2 separate regions of the Homo sapiens genome follow, and region 2 is linked to region 1. The links are contacts of gene promoters, found by promoter capture Hi-C in blood cells and fetal thymus (Javierre and others, 2016). All regions are on one chromosome and are shown on one strand. The core of a region is centred on a gene start or on the middle of the fragment in contact, and the rest is flanking DNA. Distances in the headings are between cores, read along the strand shown.

Region 1 (6,263 bases), core at 1,724-4,223:
TTGTATCCTTGGGATAAATCGTACCTCATCATGGTGTATAAACTTTTTGATGTGCTGTTGTTTTCAATTTGTGGTATTTTGTTGAGGATTTTTTGCATCTATATTCATTGGGAATATTGGTCTGTAGTTTTTTTTGTTGTTGTTGTGTCCTTGTCTGGTTTTGGTATCAGGGTGATACTGGTCCCATAGAATGAGTTAGGGAGAATTCCCTCCTCCTTGATTTTTTGGAATAGTTTCAGGAGGATTGGTTTTAGTTCTTTGTATGTTTGGTAGAATTTGTCTGTAAATCCATCTGGTCCTGGACTATTTTAGTTTTTGGGAGATTTTTTTTATTACTGATTCAATCTTGCTACTTGTTATTGGTCTGTTCAGGAGGTCTATTTCTTCCTGGTTCAATCTCAGGAGATTATGTGTTTCCAGAAATGTATTCATTTCCTCTAGGTTTTCTAGTTTGTGAGCATAAAGCTGTTCATAACAGACTCTGATGATCTTTTGTATTTCTGTGGTATCATTTGTAATGTCTCCCTTTTCATTTCTGATTGTGTTTATTTGGAGCTTCTCTCTTCTTTTCTTGGTTAGTCTAGCTAGTGGTTTGTCAATTTTCTTTATCTTTTCAAAAAAACAACTTTTTTTTTTATTGATCCTTTGTATCGTTTTATTGGTCTCTATTTCATTTAGTTCTGCTCTGATCTTTGTTATTCCTTTTATTCTGCTAACTCAGGGTTTGGTTTCTTCTGCTTTTCTCGTTCCTTGAGGTGCCATAGGAGTTTGTTAGTTTGTGATCTTTCTACTTTTTTGATATGGGCATTGAATACTGTAAATTTCTCTCTTAGCACTGCTTTTGTTATATGCCACAGGCTTTGGTATGCTGTACTTTTTTTCATTTCAAAAAGTTTTTAAATTTCTGTCTGAATTTCTTTGTTAACCTACTGATTGGTCAGGCTCTCTGCTCTTCTTGCACAAAGAACTGGGAGGGACTCTCTGGAATTTCCCTATCTAAGAAAGTTTAAATGCACTTAAGACCCCCTACCTAGGGATCTCACAAAATAACCAGGAAAAATCAACCATCTGAGAAGAGAAGAGACTGGGAGTTCTCACTGCACCCAGATAGACTTTTCATCTAGTCTTCTGAGGGCAGCTTTAAGAGATTACCTGTTGGACTTTATCTGTATAAGACAACTTTAGTTCCTGTGTAGTTCCACCCCTCACTTTCCTCCTGGGTCCATTCATCCTCCCTAATGATTTACTGTCCCTCAAAAGAATTGCCTACATCCCCCATCTCTTCCTTATGAAAAAGGGTATATAAATGTCTGTACCATGCTGGGTAATTGGGTAATCATGATGTGATTTTCCTCCATGCATGTTAATAAATCTGTATGCCTTTTCCCCTATTAATCTTCCTTTTGTCAGTTGATTTTTTGGTGATCCTCCATGGGGCAAAGGGAAAACTTTCACTTGGTCTCTACAGCTCCAGATCTATTTCTATAGTCTAGAAATAGAACTAGACTTTCTCCTGAACTCCAGGCTCATGCTCTAGCTTTTTTTTTTTTTTTTTTTTTTTTGGAGACGGAGTCATGCTCTGTCGCCCAGGCTGGAGTGCAGTGGTGTGATCTTGGCTCACTGCAGCCTCTGCCTCCCAGGTTCAAGTGATTCTCCTGCCTCAGCCTCCTGAATAGCTGGGATTAACAGGCACGTACCACCACACCTGGCTAATTTTTGTATTTTTAGTAGAAATGGGGTTTCACCACGTTGGCCAGGCTGGTCTTGAACTTCTGACCTCAGGTAATCCACCTGCCTCTGCCAAAGTGCTGGGATTACAAGTGTGAGCCACCGTAGAATTCTTGATATTATTGTTGACTTTTCTGTCTCTCACCTTCTACTCTATCTGCACAGGCACCAAATGTATGCTACCGCAGAACTAACTTGAGTATCTCACTCTTCTGTCTTCCTTTCTCTTCTTCCTTCTTCGCTTCCCTCAGAGCAGGACCTTATTCTCTTTTGTCATCATAAGTTCCCTGATTCGACTGATCCCAATTAGGAATTATTTCAAAAATAAAGTAGATCATGCCATCTCACTTTGCTTAAGGGAATCAAAGAGCTTCTTTTGATTCTGTCATTTATACATAGTAAAATCCCAATTCTGTTTCACTTACGGCTATCCCACCTCCTGATCTCTGTCCTCATCTCCCTATGTTTCTACCATGAAATTTTCCATTGCCAGGACATAGCAAGCAATGAGTAGTTTTTAAACATATTCTATTTTGTTCAGTAGGTTAGACATAACCACATGTATCTCTACAATTCTAATGTGCTTAATTCCATATCCCAGGATAGGAATAAAGCCTAATTTATGATTGATTTTATACATTTTAGGGTTAAAGGCCAAAGTTAATTTAATGCTTATGGTAGGAAGAAAAGCTTACATAATCATGAATTCTATGATTAATGTCATCCTTGAAACTAAAAATGTATTTTATGCTTTGATGTTTTCACTGGAAAAAGTTGATCTATATTTGTGAGAAAGGAAGTATCCTTGCTCATAGGCAAAGCATATTCTCTTAGCTCCATAAATAAATCAACCCTAAGGAAACAGGTCATTCATGTTTACTCAGCATTTCCTGAACACATTTATGTACCCATCTAAATGTCCACCAAGTCCTCTCTGCAAATCTACTTGGAATCCGAGCTGACCCCCTGGTGGATGGGACAGACTGGTTTTATGCAGCCAGAAGATGGACCAATAATCTCAGCACAAAGCTGGCATGTTCAAGAGATTTAATTTTTTATATAACAGCTTTAGCCAAAGCTATTCTAGGATTCAGTGGAAGCAGAATTTCATGAGGACAAACTTCTCGACTAATGGCCAATCACTAATCAGCAGGGAGGGCAAAGCCTGGTGTTTGTGTCATGGCCCGGAGTGGAGGGGGTGAGTGGGGCGTCAGTATCAAATAGTAAATCGGGACAACTAGCCTGGCCAGCCTTGCCCTCACAGCCCCTCAGAGCAGCCCGTCAGGAGGCAGCAGATGGATCAATGGTCAAGCCAGGGGGGATTTGCTCTGCCACAGGCTACTGGAAAGCAGCTTTTTGCCTCACAGATGTCCACAAAATGCCTTATTTTACAAGACTCATTTTGTTCTTGTTTTGCTTGATGGTTCTCGTGGAGAGCAGAAAACCCAAGAGGAAGCGATGGACAGGGCAGGTGGAAATGCCCAAGCCAAGGTAAAGTCATAGGTGGGAAAGGAGGGAGGTTACCCTGCATAGTAGCAGCAGCAGTGGCACAGTGGGATGGCTCCCCAGGGGGCTAAGGTCCTATTGAGATATCGCCCTATGAGAATGAGAACCCAGCTACTTCACTGAACGCAGCCTCTCCCTGGGCACACATACTCTATGTGTCACAAGCATTGAGAGCAGAACTAGACTGGGATGAGCCTTCCTTCGGATGCCTGCGTTCAGCCAAAGCATTTTGATTTGAGGCAGATATAAATAGTTGGAGACGTAGTGGGTAAAATCATTCTCTGTACAAATCACATTGTGCTGCTTTGTTTCTCAGGGTTACAACCGATGACCTGCTAAATAATTACACTCAAGTATTTTGGGGAGAACTGTATATAGGAACCTAGCCTGAACTATTAAGAAAAAAATGCATACGGGAGTTGTCTTCCTTAAATTATTTGCCAGAGAATAACTTTATAATGATATTGGGTTTCATTTTACTGTTTTGAATCTTAGAAGAGGTGTTCAGAAATTTGCTTAATTATCAGAAATATATGTGTGAACAACAGTGAATGCAATTTCATGATGTAATGGAGACATTCCCAAGAAATAATAGCCCAGGATCTGCATTCAAAATCATTACATTACAAATCTAAGTTCCTTAGGAAGTTTATTTTGAATTGACATACGAAGCATCATACTCCAGGCCTGAAGTAGACATAAGGACTGTTAGACATGGAGATAAGAAAAGAACAAGCAGCTAAGATATAAACACCATGTGTGGCATGTTACACATTTATTTTCCATTCTACTAAGCATCAGATAAACTAGTGGTTTTGAATATAAATTAATATCTTGAGGCACATTTTCTAGGTCAGTCCCCAAACATTTTTGAACATGCGCTGCTGTCAATGACAAGTTTTTGAAACTGTACCTCTAATACATGCATATTTACTTACAAATCACATACATGTGCTGTTATAAATATGTATGTTAAAGTTTAATTGATTTCTTATTTTTAGAAAAAAAAAAAAAAAACCCTGAATATAAATAAGAGTTACAGCCTCTACTTCCAGTATCCCAGTGGCAACTGCTGCTCTGGGAGAGGTTATTACTCTCTTTTGTTTATTTGTTTGTTTGTTTTTTGAGATGGACTCTCTGTCACCCAGGCTGGAGTGCAGTGGCGCAATCTTGGCTCACTGCAACCTCCACCTCCCGGGTTCAAGCGATTCTCCTGCCTCAGCCTCCCGAGTAGCTGGGATTACAGGCGTGCACCAGCATGCCTGGCTAATTTTTGTATTTTTAGTAGAGACAGGGTTTCACCATGTTGGCCAGGCTGGTCTCAAACTTCTGACCTCAAGTGATCCACCCACCTTGGCCTCCCAAAGTGCTAGGATTACAGGCAGAAGCCACCACACCCAGCCTATAATTACTCTCTCTGGAGCCTAGTCCTACTCAGCGGAAGGCAAACAGATCAAAACCCTCAGAGGCCCTGCTCTGAACAACCCATGCGGGTTGGGTTGCCAGAACCATAGGCTGTTAAACTGGAAGGAGCCTCAGATGTCATCGGCCCAGCAAGTCCCCTGAACTCTAATTTTGGGAAACGTGAATGGCTGTTGAGTGAAATGGGGTTCCAGGGCCACCAAAACGTGGAAAACCCTGGTTTAGACCATTTTCAACAGATGTCTCTACAGCAGAACTTTTAGAACCTTTGTTATGCAAATAGGCACTGTGAGAATCTTGAAGAGAGGGATAAATTATGCAGGGCTTCTCAGAAACAACTAAAAAATCCACAGTTTTTTGGACTGTCTTGTGGGATTCCTACTCCATGGAGCACACACTGGGAAACTGTCCAAGTCAACTCATTTGACAGATGCTGAAATGGCTCAGGGGCATGAGTAAGTCACACGGCCTGCTAGTGGCTTCCCAACACTAGAATGTAGGTTCCTGATTTACTTAGACTGGAGGAAAATCTGTTCAAAACTGTCTATTCTGTAAGAACTGGGGTTCAGCACAAGTCCCTTGGGGTGCCCAGGGACCCCACTCAGCAGCCTGGGCTTGGCGGCACCTCCGTCTCACTTTTCCTCAGAAGTCCACAGTCTCATTCCCAAACCCGCGCATGAGCCTGGGCACAGCTGGGCTCTGACTCTTAGTGGGGAGGAGACTTTGTTGAAATCCAGCCCATGAGGTGTTAAAGTGGGAAAAGATGAACACATACATTTCAAGGAAGTAAAATATTTATTAAACTGAGGCTGGGGGAAAAGGACAGGGAATGTGGTTCTGGGCCTTTCTGCATCCATGAGAATGCACACACAGTCAGACAGTCAACAGGGTGACGCCTCCTTGTGAACATTTCAGCCAAGCCTCTGACAATTTATTTTTCCAAATTACTTTCATTATTGACACGCAGGTGTCAAGCTATACGAACAAATAAGAAAATGACCAGACCCCTTCTGATTACAGTCTTAGAGTGCTTTCTCTCTTTAGGATTGCTCCTTTTCTTAGAAGTCCTGTTCACACACACGGTCACACTCACACACATACCGCATGCCACATATGTGACTTCACGGGCACACACTATGCACATGGTCACCCTCACACATGCACACTGTGAAGACTTCTTTGAACCTGGAAGCCTTCCCTGCCTCACCCCAGCCAAGGCATGCACACAGAACAATGATTCCGCCCAGCAGCTGCTTTTACAAAGACCAGCCCCTATTTTCTGCTGCTTTGTGTCTCTGTGTACTAAATGGCTGCAGAGTGAGTCTGTTTCCTCTTGGCTGTTATTGGTTTTGTTCTGTTCTCCCAGCTCTCAGCCTTCCAACTTTATTCCTACTCCTCCTGGCCTGCTGCCAAAGTTGGCCTCCTGACCACACGATTGCCCTTCTTTCTTGCCAAGGGAGGCACTTCTCCCTTGAGAGCTGACTCTGGGCTGTGCCCTGGACAGTACTGTCAGGCCCCTGCAGGTCTCAACGTGGAGCCCCCTCTGTAGCTTCCTTCCCCATCTGCTGCCTCCTCACTACCCCTACCTCGGCCATCCTTCCTGGGTC
Region 2 (6,263 bases), core at 1-2,500, 290 kb after region 1:
GATTCCTTCTGCCCTTAATCATCTTTGGTGTCCTCTGGATCTTTTCTAGCTCCACTGTATCTTCAAGAAGCAGAGACTAGAACCCCATAAAATTTTCATCATATAAAAGATTCCAGGGCCAGGTACTCTTTCAGTTGTAGTCACTTCTCTCTCTCTCTTTTTTTTACAATAATCTCCAGACAAGTTTTCAGTTGTTTCCCTTGATGCATCTCCCAGATCTGTGCTTGCCACAGACTGAAACTTATTTGAGAATTCACGGCTGGTTCCTCCTTTTTTACATGAACCGAATCCAAACAGAAATCACACTTGAGATCATAAACTTACCTTCATTAAATATTTATTGGAGTTTGAGAAGATGCCAGGCATTGTGCTAGGTATGTGGAGGTGGAAATAGGAGGTGGTTTCAAATATTAATAAAAAGCAACAGCTCTTGGTGGGGCATGGTAGCTCACACCTGTAATCCCAGAGCTTTGGGAGGTCAAGGTGGGGGGATTGATTGAGCTCAGGAATTCAGGACCAGCCTGGGTACCATAGTGAGACCCTGTCTCTACAAAAAATTACAAAAATTAGCCAGGCATGGTGGCACATGCCTGTAGTCCCAGCTATTCAGGAGGCTGAGACAGGAAGATTGCTTGAACCTGGGAGGCAGAGGTTGCAGTGAGCTGAGATCATGCCACTGCACTCCAGCCTGGGGTCTAGAAGGAGATCCTGTCAAAAAAAAAAAAAAAAAAAAAAAAAAGGAGGGGAGTTAAAAAAACAAAAAAGAGCAGCAGCTCTTAACACACAGCCTGGCTGGGCGTGGTAGCTCACGTCTGTAATCCCCGAACTTTGGGAGGCTGAGGTAGGAGGACCATTTGAGCCCTGGAGTTCGAGACCAGCCTGAGCAACATGGCTAGACCCTGTTTCTACAAAAAATACAAAAATCAGCCAGGCGTGGTGGCACATGCCTGTAGTCCCAGCTACTCAGGAGGCTGAGGCAGAAAGATCCCTTGAACCCAAGAGGTCAAGGTGGTTTCAAACATTAATAAGAAGCAGCAGTTCTTGGCAGTTCACTGGGTGCAGTGAGCTGTGATTGCACCACTGCACTCCAGCCTGGGCAACAGAGAGAGACTCCGTCTCAAAAAAAAAAAAATTAAAAAAATTAAAAAAATTTTAGAGCAGATGATTCTGTACTAAAAAAGAAAATAATAAATAAATTAAAAATTAAAAACACACACACACCTAACGGGTGAGAAAAATGAATGAAAAATTATCTATCTGCATGTAAATGCTATGGGTTCAACCCATCTCTAGGAAGTTATATTCATTTCTATTATTGCTGTAAAAAATTACCACAAATTTTGTGGCTTCATTCAACACAAATTTATTCTCTTACAGTTCTGGAGGTCAGAAGTTAGAAATGAGTCTTAAGGGCTAAAATCAAGGCACTGACAGAGCCAGTTCCTTCTGAAGGCTCCAGGGGAGAATCCTTCCTCCCAGCTTCTAGAAGTGGCTGGCATTCTTTGGCACGTGGCTGCATCACTCCCACCTCTGCTACCATCATCACATCACCTCCTCCTCTCTTTCACCTCCTGCCTTCCTTTTACAAGGACCCCTTATGATTACATCAGACCCACCTTGATAATCCAGGGTACTCGCCTATCTTAAGATAACTTAATCACATCTGCAAAGTCCTTTTACCATGTAAAATAACATATAAACAGGCTCCAGGGATCAGGATGTGAACCTCTTTGGGGAGCTATCATTCAGCCAACCATAGAAGTCAAGAGAGCAATGACTTAACACGACACTTGAATTTTGAGTGCAGCGATAGCTGGCATTAAGTGGGCCTTTCCTTTATGCCAGGCATTTCACTAAGGGTTTTACATTTGCTTTCTCATTCAGTTTTTATACTAGGCTGGGTGTGGTGGCTCATGCCTGGATCCCAGCACTTTGGGAGGCCAAGGCGGGAGGATCCCTCAAGCCTAGGAGTTCAAGACCACCCTGGGCAACATGGCGAAAGTCAGTCTCCAAAAAGAAAGTACAAAAATTAGCCAGGTGTGGTGGTGCATGCCTGTAGTCCCAGCTACTCGGGACGCTGAGGTGGGATGATCACCTAAGTCTGGGGAGACTGAGGCTGCAGTGAGCTGTAATGGTGCCACGGCACTCCAGCCTGGGCAACAGAGTGAGACCCTGTCTCAAAAACAAAACAATCTTTACATTAGGTCTCAGAGGTCGTGGTTGTTATTATCTCCATTTTCCAGGAGCGGAAAATAAAGCTCAAGAGGTTAAGTTACTTGCTTAACATCCTGGCTAGCAAACAGAGGAGTCAGGATTTGAAAGAAGGTGTGACCCAATTACTATGCTGTACTGATAAAAGGAAAACTGAAGGAGAAGGGCATGCCAGGACAAGGAAGCAGTATATTAAAAGGCCTAGAAGCTGGAAGAGCACGGAGCCTTTGAGGTATAACTGGGGTGAGGAAGTGATGGGAGGAAGAAGGGAAGACAAAGTTGGGAAGGGAGACAAGGGCTGGATGGTGATGGACTCCTGGGAGAAGGGTTCCTGTAGACAATGGGGAATCTCTAAAGGATTTTAGAAAGGTGAGACTGCCGGGTGTGGTGGTTCAATGGCTGTAATCCCAGTGCTTTGGGAGGCCAAAGTGGGAGGATTGTTTGAGCTCAGGAGTTGAAACCAGGCTCAGCAGCATACGAGACCCTGTCTCTACAAAAAATAAAATATTAGTCTGGTATGGTGGCATGCACCTGCAGTCCCAATTATTCGAGAGGCTGAGGTGGGTCATTTGAGCCCAGGAGTTAGAGGCTGCAGTGATCTTGCCACTCTACTCCAGCCTGGGCAACAGAAAGAGACCCTGTCTCAAAAAAAAAAAAAAAAAAAAATTCAAAATATAAAAGAGGCTGGGTGTGGTGGCTCACACCTGTAATCCCAGCACTTTGGGAGGCCGAGGCGGGTGGATCACCTGAGGTCAGAAGTTCGAGACTAGCCTGGCCAACATGGCAAAACTCTGTTTCTACTAAAAAATACAAAAATTAGCTGGGCGCAGTGACTCATGCCTGTAATCCCAGCACTTTGGGAGGCCCAGGCGGGCAGATCACAAGGTCAGGAGATTGAGACCATCCTGGCCAACATGGTGAAACCCCGTCTCTACTGAAAATACAAAAATTAGCCGGGTGTGGTAGCGGGTGCCTGTATAGTCCCAGCTACTCGGCAGGCTGAGGCACGAGAATTGCTTGAACCCGGGAGGCAGAGATTGCAGTGAGCTGAGATCACGCCACTGCACTCCAGCCTGGCAACAGAGCAAGACTGTCTCAAAAGAAAAAAAAAAATTAGCTGGGTGTAGTGGTGGGGTCTTATAATCCCAGTTACTCGGGAGGCTGAGGCAGGAGAATCTCTTGAACTTGGGAGGCAGAGGTTGCAGTGAGCCAAGATCATACTACCACTGCACTCCAGCCTGGGTGACAGAATGAGACTCCATCTAAAAATAAAAGGGAGAGAGATGGAGGGAGACAAATTCCTGGTGATGTCATTTGAAGCCCTGGATATAGCCATACTTGAAGTCAACCCACTGGGCCCTGGACTTTCCAGGAATATAAGTGCATAAATTCTCTTTCTCTTTTTATTTTTGTTTATCTTGTTTTGGTTTGTTTATATTTTTGCTTGAGTTGGTTTGCATTGGGATTCTACCACTTGCATTTGAAAGTTTCCTAAAGAATGCGGTGGCACCACATGGTCTGGCCCCTTCCTGCCTGTACCCACTGTTCCCTTGATCTCTGTGCTCCAGCAAACTTGGCTTTCTTTCAGTCACTTAGAAATGCCTGGGGATCCTCTGCCATAACTGCTTTGCATATACTACTGCCCTGCCTGGAACATTCTTCCTCCCTCTTTGCCCAGTTAACTCTTACTCATCTTCCAGGTTGCTGCCTAAGGTCATTCTAATAGCTTGTTACAAGGTGGCCCCTGATGAATTCCATCTTCCAGTATTCATGCCCTTGTGTGATAGTCCCCTCTCCTGAACTCTGGGTGGACTGATTTAACCAGTGGAATTCAGCAGATATGATGCTGTGTCAGTTCCAAGCCTAAGCCTTAGGAAAGGCTGGCAGCTTCTATTTTTGTGCTCTTGGAAGGCTTGAGCCAACATATTAAAGGTCTGATTATCCTGCTGGAGAGACCAAATGGAAAGATTACATGAGAGAATCCCAGCTGTGGCCTAGCCTAAGTGCCAGCTGGATGCAGCCTCCTGAGTGACCACTGACAAGACCAGAGAAACTGACCATCTGAGCCCAGCCCGAATTACAAAATTGTGTGCAAATAAAGTGGTTCCTCTCTATATCTCTTTTGTCTTCTTTAAGCTTGTTACTTTGTGCTATTATGTTTTAGGGTAGTTTGTTGTGCAATATTAGATAAGGGAAAGAGTCACTTCAAGAAAACTCCTCTGGCCGGGCACAGTGGCTCACACGTGTAATCCCAGCACTTTGGGAGGCCAAGGTGGGAGGATCTCTTGAGTCCAGGAGTTCAAGACCAGCCTGGGCAACATGGAAAGACCCCGTCTCTACAAAACATACAAAACTAGCTGGGCATGGTGGCATGCACTGGTAATCCCAGCTACTCAGGAGGCTGAGGTGGGAGGATTGATTGAGCTCCGGAGTTGGAGGCTGCAGCGAGCCGAAATCACACCACTGCACTCCAGCCTGGGTGCTAGAGCCAGACCCTGCCTGGAAAAAAAAAAACAAGAAAACTCCTCTAACACTCCTAGACCAAGTCAATCCCATTGCAGACATTTTCACAGGAAAAAAGACATGATCATAGTACTGTGCACATTTCCTTTAGAACACTTATTACAATTCACAGTTGTTTGTAGCTTTAACTCAAGAATGACTTTTCTTTTCAGGGTCCCTTTTCTGTGATAAACTCAATAATTTCAGGAGTATTTATCCAACCTTAAGACATCAGTCTTTATTGTGGTTGGAAAGTTAGGTCTGTCTGCCAAAGGACCCAGTTCTCTGCTTCCATTCCTGCTGAATCTGCTGCTGATCCTCCAAATGCAGGTTCAGTAGAAATTGTAGCACAAAAGTTTCTCACAGAAAAGGTCCCAGAGGGCTCCCTTCCCCCTCCTAATTTGTGAGTCTGCTCTTAAGCATTTAGGCACCATTAATAGGAAAACTAGATTTTAAAAGATTCATGGTGCATGGTTTACAGTATTCAGATTTACATAGCAGGTTCTTCCAAATTACACTTAGGGGAATAAATCAGTGACTAACTTTGGCAATCTCACAAAGCACAGAGCCTTCCAGTTTTAAAGGTTTTTGCTGGTGAGTCATTAAGTTAAAAAAGGAAATCTATATTGGTGATAAATCTTTGTAGAAGTACTCTATGTTCTGCTAAAATTGATTGTTTCTAGGTGGCTACTTCAACTAATATTATGAAAAGAATAGATTTCTGTTGTAATACAAAATGATACTTTCTGAGAAATTGTTCCTAGTCTTGCTTTTTTTAAAAAAAAAGTTGGCACAGGAGATTTATTACAGAGGGTACTTCCAGAGGACCAGAACTTTTAATAAATTGATTCTGTGGTTATTTTCATTGTTTAACATTATTGATCATACACATTCACCAGATTAGAAATTTGCGGTTGCTGTACTTGTGGGGAGATGGCATGGTGGAGACCTAAACTTTATGTAGGTTAGAGCTTACTCTACTGGCAGTCCACAGCTTCAACCATGGTGAGTGAAGACAAAGGAGGATTCCTGAACCCCATCCTCTCCCTCAGGCTGTCTTCTCCCACCCTCCACACACTCCATCACAAAGACCTACATAAGCTTTCTCTCTAGTCGTCACCTCCTCTCCTTTTCCATGTACGCTGCTTTAGTTCAGGCTCTTGTCAATTTGACCTTCAGACTTTTGCTGTGTTCTCATGGATGGTATTCTTGCCTTTAGTCTCAACTTCCAAATCCATCTTCCACCACACTTCTGCAGTGACTGGCTACTTCCTTTCTTAAAACCCTTCAATGATGCATTGTTTCTGCAAGAGAGGTCCTTAACCTATGGTCCACAGATATTTAGCAGACATATGGACAAATGAACTCTCTAAAGTAGTGTAGATGAATGACATGAATACATCTATTTCCCAGGAGAGGGCCTGTAGTTTTCATTACACTCTCAAAAAGGCCTGTGTCTCAAAAAGAGGGAAGAACCACTGGCCTATAGGTGGAAAAACCAGTTCCTTGGCATGTCACATGATTATCAAAAGGGTGGAGGTGAAAAGATG

What was found. Contacts are between HindIII fragments. The CHiCAGO score rates a contact against its expected background, and 5 or more counts as called.
Region 2: a contact is called between a fragment that was not itself captured here and the fragment with the promoter of GABRR2 in region 1, in 1 of 17 cell types (neutrophils). The highest score is 5.0, in neutrophils.

What each region holds. Positions count from the first base shown.
Region 1 is chr6:89,312,009-89,318,271 of GRCh38, reverse strand. It overlaps GABRR2 (gamma-aminobutyric acid type A receptor subunit rho2), which reads left to right and starts at 2,973. Exons shown (of 9, transcript NM_002043.5): 1 at 2,973-3,219. The coding sequence starts at 3,107. The HindIII fragment of the contact is 14,907 bases long and covers 2,421-6,263 here.
Region 2 is chr6:89,021,929-89,028,191 of GRCh38, reverse strand. No RefSeq gene overlaps it. Among named protein-coding and RNA genes, the nearest start is that of PNRC1-DT, 56 kb to the left of the region's middle. RefSeq lists an enhancer at 6,019-6,263. The HindIII fragment of the contact is 6,199 bases long and covers 1-4,349 here.